Regions from separate parts of the Homo sapiens genome. Here region 1 is linked to region 2. Evidence: promoter capture Hi-C in 16 types of primary human blood cells and fetal thymus (Javierre and others, 2016). All regions are on one chromosome and are shown on one strand. Each heading gives the region's core, a stretch centred on a gene start or on the middle of the fragment in contact. The rest is flanking DNA. Distances are from core to core; before and after follow the strand shown.

Region 1 (4,492 bases), core at 623-3,122, 160 kb after region 2:
GTAATAAATATTCACTATAAAATTTTTAAATTCAAGACTAATGAGAATAAAATAAGCCCACAAGCAAAATAATTACCTTAAAATTACAAAAACAACATTTCTAAAATTAGATACAAATACTGCAGAAAAGCATAAGGAAAAAAACATTTGAAAACTACCTTTATACTAATGAGAATATTTTAATGAATTCATTAAATTGGGGGTAGGGAATCTCTACTCTTCCTTAAGTAAATATTCAAATATTTATGTCCTTGCATAAGTGGACTTTCAATATGTTAAGGTGAAAAAGGTCAGGGACCAAGATCCTAGAACTGTTTGTTAGATTGAATCAAAACTGTATAAATCAAAGAAAAGCATATGTTTGTGGTAACAACATTTAGGGCTGCTTAATCACAGACGTGGGCTGAATACAGAGGCCCTAGCTGAGGAAGTAGAACAGATAGTTGGAGCTATCACATGGGGCAATGCTATGAAGACTCAAGATGAAGGCCAGGCCTCAGCATATCTCTCTGCAGAAGATGACAGGCACAGACATAAGATCTGAAGCTGATCATTACTTTCCCACAAGGATTAGAGAGAAGCTGTGAGGAGAACGCTGAGTGGATTTGTAGGCTGCCCAGGTGGGGTGCTGTCACTAAGGGAAGACAAGAATGAAGGAATCCTACCAATGGCAGCTGGATTAGCAGCTGTGAAGTCCAGTAAGCAGACACTTCAGACCAAAGGATTTCTCCCAGGGGTGAATACAAGGCCTGACTACAAGAGTTCTTCATAAGACTCAAAGGTTTGCAGATCATTGAGAGCCTGGCCACTATCTGGAGAGTTCACTGGCCCCCAGGAGAGTTTGGTGGAGAGGATGAATGGGCCTGTGCGGTGGCATTTTACTCTGAAGTTATGTTTTCCCCTGCTCTCTGCTTCACAGAGGAGTCCTGGCCTTTGGGAGGTGCTATGATTCATCCTCTGGGATCTTAAACTCTACCTAGATTCAAGTCATGTACACAGAAAAAAATAAAAGTGTCAACTCTCACAACTCTGTTCAGGAGAGAAGCTTTATCTGACCCCTGGGACAGGACATAGCCAAAGACACACAATACTAAAAATAGGGGAATTGGTGAGCGGCCGGAGCAGCACTCCATCAGTCAGCATTCAAATAGTGTTTTATAATGTTGTTGATTAATTCTATAATTATATACTTATGTAAACTATGGAATATACCTACTTAGAATATGAAATATGAGAATACTTATATGGAAAATGGTTAAGTAAATGGGCTCCGGAGTTAGAAAAATCTAGGCTCCAAATCTGTTTTTTTTATTTATTTACTTGGTAATTTTTCTGAATACTATTAAATTATTTATAAAAACGCAAAATACCTACCTCAAAGTGTTGCTTCAAGGATTTAATAAAATAATGTATGTAACAGTGGTTTGCACAAAATATATATGTGTATACTCATTAAATTGTCTCTATTAAAACTAATAATAGAAGCAAAATTATTGCTATTGTGGGACCAAACAGTAAGATTCAGAGAATTGAATATAGATAAAATGCAGAGGCTAGCTGGACTAAAATCTTGACTGGTTTATGAATGCCAGAACCTATGATTAAAAATATACTAAATGGTTGATTTGATTTAATCACATTTAAAACCAAAGTTAATGTATAGATGACTGAGTACCATGTACCAATGATAATACAGATGTGCCATTCGGATAGTCTAAAAAGTAATTTGTATTAACTCTTAAGTAGTTATTTAATGTAATCTCCTAAATGTCTAATTCACAATAGCAAAGACATGGAACCAACCCAAATGTCCATAAATGATAGACTGGATAAAGAAAATGTGGTACATATACACCATGGAATACTATACAGCCATAAAAAGGAATAAGATCATGTCCTTTGCAGGGACATGGATGAAGCTGGAAGCTGTCATCCTCAGCAGACTAACCCAGTAACAGAAAAGCAAACACCACATGTTCTCACTCACAAGTGGGAGCTGAAGAATGAGAAAACATGGACACAGATGGAAACAGGGAGGGGAAAACACACACACCAGGGCCTTTCAGGGGCAGGGATCAAGGGGAAGGAGAGCATCAGCAACTAATGTATGTGGGGCTTAAAACCTAGGTGACAGGTTGATAGGTGCAGCAAACCACCATGGCACACGTATACCTATGTAACACACCTGCATGTTCTGCACATGTATCCCGGAACTTAAAGTAACAAAAAAAAAATAATGAGGTCATTTAAAATGTAATAAGTCCAAAGTGAGAGGGATTTCATTGTAGGTATAGCAACTCAGTCCTATAAGAAGTGTTTGGGATAAAAAATTCATTGCAACACATGAGATCATTATTTTTGTAATGTATGGATTCCTGTAATGCATGGATTGCATTATTCACTGCAATCAGTGAGATCATTAGTGCTGTACATTCCGATACCACGAAGGCACTGCATCACATCCAAGGTCACAGATATTTCTTAAAATCCAGTGAGGCCATAAAATGAGTTCCAAACTTTCTTATACTCTGAATACTTGTCCCCAAACCTTGAGATCACTCAAAGGAGAAGACTAAGAATAAGGCTTTTGAGGAAGGTAGAAAAGGATGGCCTAAATTTCCCTTTAGAGCGTTAGCAGTACAGGCAGGAGGATTATGAGGAAGAAGCATTAGGTGAAGTTTAAAGTCACTCTACAAGGTCAAGCTTAAAACTGGCTGACAGACCTCAGCCTACTGGAATGAAGGACCCTGGATTAGTCTCTGTCAGGTCTAGACTGAGTGCCTCTCATTGCCAATTCGAAAGTGAAGTCCCAAGTCCTAGTGCAGGCTCTGACCTCTATTATTTATGCCATGCCACTTAATTACCTTGAGCCTTAATTTTCTGATTTTAAAATCCAAGGTTAATATGTATTTGATCAACTCACTAGATTGATATATGTTGATAACATTAGGTTAGCATGGTTCACCCAGGTTATATAAATTCTTTTACAATTGGAATAGAATTCAGACAACATGAAAGAAATTACTATTCAAAGTATTCACCCTGAAGAAAAAGCAAACTATGATGCAAGCTACAAAGGTATACTGTTTAGTAGTTTGAAAAGGAAAGTAAACACGATTTAATTGGAAAATGAAGAATAGCCTATTAAGAGAATGGGGAAGGCCCATGTAAGGAAATTGTCCTCTTAGGGGTTTACACTATACTGATTTTAAGGTCACATTAACACTAAAACCCAATCATGAAGTCACTTTCTTAAATGTCTACTGTGATTCTAGCATTACCTTTAGTGCCAAAATAATAGACATAGCTCCCATATTCAAAGAGGTATCTGCATGGCTGTAATAATAAAGGGCAAATAATACAAAGGGGATAAAAATGAACTCCATGTTCTGGGAGAGGTCCCATTAGAAACATTTTGCTGGTCAGCTTTGCAAATCAGGCATCTCCCCCAGAATCCTGCATATGCAACTGTGTGATGCTTCTAACAAAGTGACTGTTCGCCAGTCATTTTGTGGTTCTTTGGTACCACTATTCCTGTTATGTTCCCTAGTTTTAAGCTGTTAATGTATTTATTTTTTTCCATTATGATAAAATACCCATAATATAACATTTATGATTTTAACAATTTGAAAATGTAAACTTTGGTGGCATTTAATACATTCACAATGTTGTGTAATCATCACCAATACCTACTTCAAGAACATCCTCATCCTAAAGTAAACTATGTACTCATTACACAGGACTTCATTGTTCTTTCTTCTCTCAGTCACTGGTAACTACCAATCTGCTTTGTATACTTTAGATTTTTATGTAAATGAAATCATACAATATGTGGCCATTGAATTTAGCTTCTTTCACTTAGCCTACTGTTTTCATTCTTCATCCATGTTTTTGTGACAGAAATATTCCACTGTGCATATGTGTATGTGTGCATGTGCACACTCACCCACAGTGCACACACCATGTTTTGTTGCATGCACACATCACATTTTGTTTATCCATTAATCAACTGATGGACATTTGAGTTGTTTCTACCTGTTTACTGTTGCAAATAATCCCGCCATGGATACATGTACAAAGCTATATTCAAAAAAGCTGTTATCATTTTAATGACCCCTTTCATCTTCTATAATAAGACTAAGCTCTTCTCTAAGTGTGATGTCAGCCTCCTTATGCCTTTCTAGACTCTGCTGCTACTACTAGCTCTTTTTATGCAACACCACCCAAGTCTTACACAAACCCTATAACCAAGTCTGCCACACACCTCATGCTTTGCCACTGCCTGAAATGTCCTCATTAGGCTGTTGCACATTTACTTTCTAGCTTTTCTAGAAGCAGCTCAGTCATCATTTCCTGCTGGAAGCCAGGTCTTCTTTGTGTCCTTCTGCTCATCTGGCCCATGCATGCATTAATCAATAGGCCAATTCCAGTCTGTTCCACTCATTTATGTGCCTACAGGTCAGTCTCTTCTAAGTCATGAGTTTCAGTGAGG
Region 2 (4,984 bases), core at 1,717-4,216:
TTCATGAGACTTATTCACTGTTACAAGAGCAGCATAGGAAAGACCTGTCCCCGTGATTCAGTTATCTCCCGCAGGGTCCCTGCCACAACACGTGGTAATTATGGGAGCTACAAGATGAGATTTGGGTGGGGACACAGAGACAAACAATATCACCCTCAAAATGTGTTTTCTCAAATAAACCAGCTGATTGCAAATGAGAATAGCCCTAACCTTAATCACTTATCTCAAATAAACACTTCCGGTCAGTGGCATATACCTCTTCTGTAGAAGAAAGTAACAAACATTCCCATTTACTGTATTTGGTGTCAACCTATAATAATTATTTTCTCCGTAATTTATGGCTGACAAATTCAGAAAGGAGAGGAATCACATTAAGTTTTATTTTAGTTTGCTAAAGAGCTTGGAAAAAGTGCACAAACCTAAAAAATTCAGGAAATTCTTTTGGCCTTTGTTCCTGGCACCCAATGCTTTGTTAGCACCTATGCCAGAAATTTTAGAAATTGACATGAGCTAACAAATTAGAAGACATCCTGAGGCATCTAGAAGACAATGCTTCATTATTTAACACTATATACACAGGGAAAAGACAGCTTAAGCATAATTAATAGCCAGTGTTTTGCTCTGAAGGGTGCAAAGCGATGACATGCCATCACACTATCTTGACTCCACAAATCTCCATTCCTCAGACATTAAGTCATATCTTGTTTCACCCTGCCCATGTGGACTTGAAATGCTATCAGTGCTTTTATGAACAGTTTTTTTGTGGAAGCCTGATGTCTGGCAATGGAGTATCTGCCATGGATTTTTCTCTATTATTTTCCCAGAAAGGAAGTTGTGTTTATTTTGTTGAGTAATTGTCATAGACCTGGGTCTGAACAACTAGATGAGAACATTACAAAGAAGCAACGCTATTTAAAATTCTGAGCTGGGACTTCATTTTATTCCCATCACAGCAGACTCTCAGTGCTAAAAGCACCAAAGTAAGCTGTACATGTCTCTACAGGATTGCAAAGGAACTAAACAGAAAGGAAGGGAAAGGGAGGGACTTTCTTAATTACATTACAATCATCATGACCTTCATTATTATTGATGAATTATCCTCTGTTGGTATGAGGAGAGAAAGAATAAGAAGAAAGTAATATGAGAGAATGAAAGATTTATTGGAAATTGATGAAATTAATCAGGTTTGAAAAAAGCACTGTTGTTTTGTTTTGTTTTTTTCTTTCACGAGAATATCTTCTCCCTTGGAAGAAGCTCTGGGAAGTCTCTGAAGTGCTCCAGAGTTCCATCTTCTCTCTGTGGAGGGAGAAAAGTGGTATTGGAATGGGCCAGCTCAGATACAAGAGCCTGCATCAGGGCTCTTAGGAGGCCTAGAAATACAAAGGGATAGGCTACAGAGAATGGTCTGTAGACTAGCCCCATGCAAGTAGACCATATTACACAAAAGAAAAGGCAAAGGAGATGACTTCCAACGAGAATCCATATATAATTTCATGCAAATATAATTATTTAGTGCATATTTAATTTTATATACACACTCAATTTATTCTTTGACAATTCCATCATCATTGTATATTCTGAAAAGTACTTAATAGGGAGATGGGGTAAGAGCAGGGTGGTAGGTACAAAAAGAGCTTATACCTTCTCTTCTAATAAATACATGGGCTTCTTAGGCTCAAGAGGGAGTGATATTGTACATTGCTCCCCAGGACCATTAAAAGATTCAGGATAAAACATCTAGGCTCTTTAAATGAACTACAGTAATGATCTACCACCTACATAGAATTAGAGATGAGCTGTGGTCAGCAGGGAGTACTGAGAGAACAGGTACAAGGGACACAAAAACGTAGACAGAAGAGACATAAGCTAGAGCCATGCATAAAGGAATGGAGTCTGAGGCTAAAATGATAGGAACCCTATTATCAACTGACAAGACAAGTGAAGAAAATCATAACTGAATTCAAGATACAGGGCCTATTTGGACATTAGGTTGAATCATTCCACCTTACCTTAGTGCAAACCCATCTTTGAGGCAAGTTGAGGGTCTTCTTCACAGAGATGCTTGATAAATTTGCAGCAAGACTTGGGTCCTTTTCCAGTAACAAGGTCAATCAAGACTCGAGCCTTATCCATGACAGTGTCATTTTCATCTCTCACTTTGTTCATGTCTTCCTGGCTAATAACTTCATCCTCTAATAGGCAATCCAGCAAGGCATTTATTGTGCCTGCACCCACTGAATGGATAAAAATTCTTCTCTTTTTACGCAAGAGTTGGTCTGTTGGAAGCACAAAGATTCCTCAAATAATGAACATGACACAATTTCCCTCTCAATTTACCAACAGGGTAACAATCATTTAAACATTTCTCTCCACAAGTACAGTAATCCCAAGGAACGGTCTTATACCTTTGCATTTACTCCACGTACTTCCTTCTGATTCTAGCATTACCTACATATGCTCACTGAGTGACCTGGGAAACTTGACTTCATGATTTTTCTGTGAATCTCCTAAAAATCAGAAGTCATTCTATTCTGACACATCCCAGTTTCTTGAATTTTGAAGGGAATTGACAGTTTCATGAATTTTGAAGGGAATTGACTGTTTCCTTTGAGAACAACAGCTACTGATACCCATCCTGTGCCCATTCTCATCCTGAACTACATAACTCTTCAAATGTGGACAACACTAGCAAAATTATAGCAGATACCAGTAGGATCCCAGATTCTTCCTGGCCTTTATCTGTTCCTTCAAAAACGCTGTGCAAGTCTGGGCATCTTCCCACCCTGCCTCTCCCTTCTTCTTTCTCTCTCCACCCCAAGGCTGCCCACACAAACCTTCACAAAGCCTAATGAGAAAGGCAGTCCTTTCCCAAACTAATTCCTCCCTAAGACCTATCCTCTTACTGGGGAAGACTCACCAGCCATGGCTCCTCACGTTGGCACTTGCAATGTGTGTTACACTTGCAATGACAGGCAAGGTAGCTCTATCCTTTTAGGCAGGGCGTGTACACAGATCAATGAACAATACTTACACCTACACATGTGTATTTATAATTATTGCCCAAGAAGCTGTTAACTATTGTCATTTCCCAAGGTATTTTTACACAATTGAATCTCAGATTGTAGCATGAACTGTGCCCATAAGAAAATTGCTTTACCATTCCTTGGTGGGTGAGAAACAAGAATAGGAGAGAATTGAGAAGGCACACACAGAGCTAAACACATGCAGTAAACAATCTTTAATTCACTGAGATTTAAATGGAAAGTAAAATCACAGTATAGGGTAGTTGTGCCACCTAAATCAAGTACTAAGAGTTCCTTTTTTAAATTGTGGTAAAATACACATAATATAAAATTTACCATCTTAGCCATTTTACAGTATCCAGTTCAGTGGCATTAAGTACATTCACATTGCTGTGTAGCCATCAATATCATCCAACTGTAGTTGTTTTCATTTTGGGAAATTGAAACTCTATACTCCTTAAACAGTAACTCTCTATCCTTTCCTTCCATCAGTCCCTGGCAACTAACATTGTACTTTCTGTCTTTATGAATTTGACTTCTCTAGGTATCTCATGTAAGTAGAATTATACAGTATTCATTTTTTGATGCCTGACTTATTTCACTTAGTGTAATGTCCTCGGTGTTTATTCATGTTGTGGCATGGGTCACAATTTCCTTTCTTTCTGAAGTTGAATAATACTCCATTCTATGTATGTACCACATTTTAGTTTACCCATTCTTCATTGAGCACAAATTTCTTCCCTTTTGCTATTGTAAATAACACTGCTATGAACATGGTATACAAATATGTTTTTGAGATTCTGCTGTCAATTATTTGAATATATACCCAGAAGTGGAACTGACAAATCATAGAGTAATTCTATTTCATTTTGTTTTGTGAAATCGGTATGCTGTTTTCCATAGCAGCTGCACTGTATTACATTCCCACATATAAAGCAGAAGCGTTCCAGTTTTTCCATGTCCTCACCAATACATATTATTTTTCTGTTCTTTTGATAATAGCCATCCTAATGGGTGTGAGATGGACTAAGACTTCTTACCTTCCTTTCATTGTTTTTTACCTAAGCTCTAGGCAGTCTCCAGACGCAGAAATGGTGTATGAAGCAGTTTTGCTATTTGGAATAAAAGTGCTTTGTTACGTAAGGCTCTTTTTCTTCAGATGGCACCATTTTAAGTAACACTGTATTACAAAGATTAAGGGCACAGACTCTGAAGCCAGAATGGTTGGATCCATATTTTAACTGCTGATCTTAGGAAAGGAAATTAACCAAGCTTTAGTCTTCCCATCTGCCAGATAGGTTTGATGATAATTCCTACCTTGCAGTTTTATTGCAAGTATTTAATGAACAAATATAAGTCATTAAAATAGCCCCTGGCATAAAGGAAGCACCTCAATTATTATATATGTCCATGTAAAATCCCCTATTCATCTCATCAATTCATTCAACATAAATATTCAGCATAGTTATTTACTGAGACCCAAGTCTATGTGCCATACATTATTATAGATGCTGGGGATGTAGTAATGACCAAAAACAGACAAAAATTCCTACCCTATTAGAAGTTGTATGATAGTAGGAGAGACACATATACTCATTAAATGTATACAAAATATTTTAAGAGTTCTTTAAAGAAAAATATTCTCAGAAGATTGGGGGAATCACATCTTTGGTAAAATATTTGTATTAGCTTATATATGTGACATAATTTGATAAATATTTAAAATCTGGGCAAGGTGCTACAGCTTATGTGCCCATGGGCCCAGGAATACACCAAATGAGGTGAATTGGAGAGGGGAGGCTGTGCCTATCTGGTAAGGGTAGTCCTCTCTGAAGGGGCAGGGCTCCTCAGACCCAACTAATTTTGGCTAAGAGAATGAAAATTCAGTTTACTTTTTCATTTTAAGGGTACTTTATCTCTAATTTTAAAAATACTTTCAGTTGGTTTACTATTGTTTTAAA

The links. Contacts are between HindIII fragments. The CHiCAGO score rates a contact against its expected background, and 5 or more counts as called.
Region 1: a contact is called between a fragment that was not itself captured here and the fragment with the promoter of CARD18 in region 2, in 1 of 17 cell types (neutrophils). The highest score is 6.7, in neutrophils.

What each region holds. Positions count from the first base shown.
Region 1 is chr11:105,297,910-105,302,401 of GRCh38, forward strand. All of the region lies in intron 2 of LOC105369468 (a long non-coding RNA gene), which reads right to left. Among named protein-coding and RNA genes, the nearest start is that of CARD18, 160 kb to the left of the region's middle. RefSeq lists an enhancer at 1-230. The HindIII fragment of the contact is 1,658 bases long and covers 1,044-2,701 here.
Region 2 is chr11:105,136,803-105,141,786 of GRCh38, forward strand. CARD18 (caspase recruitment domain family member 18) reads right to left here and starts at 2,967. Exons shown (of 3, transcript NM_021571.4): 1 at 2,918-2,967; 2 at 2,010-2,276; 3 at 912-1,296. The coding sequence starts at 2,924. The coding sequence ends at 2,011. The HindIII fragment of the contact is 11,660 bases long and covers 1-4,293 here.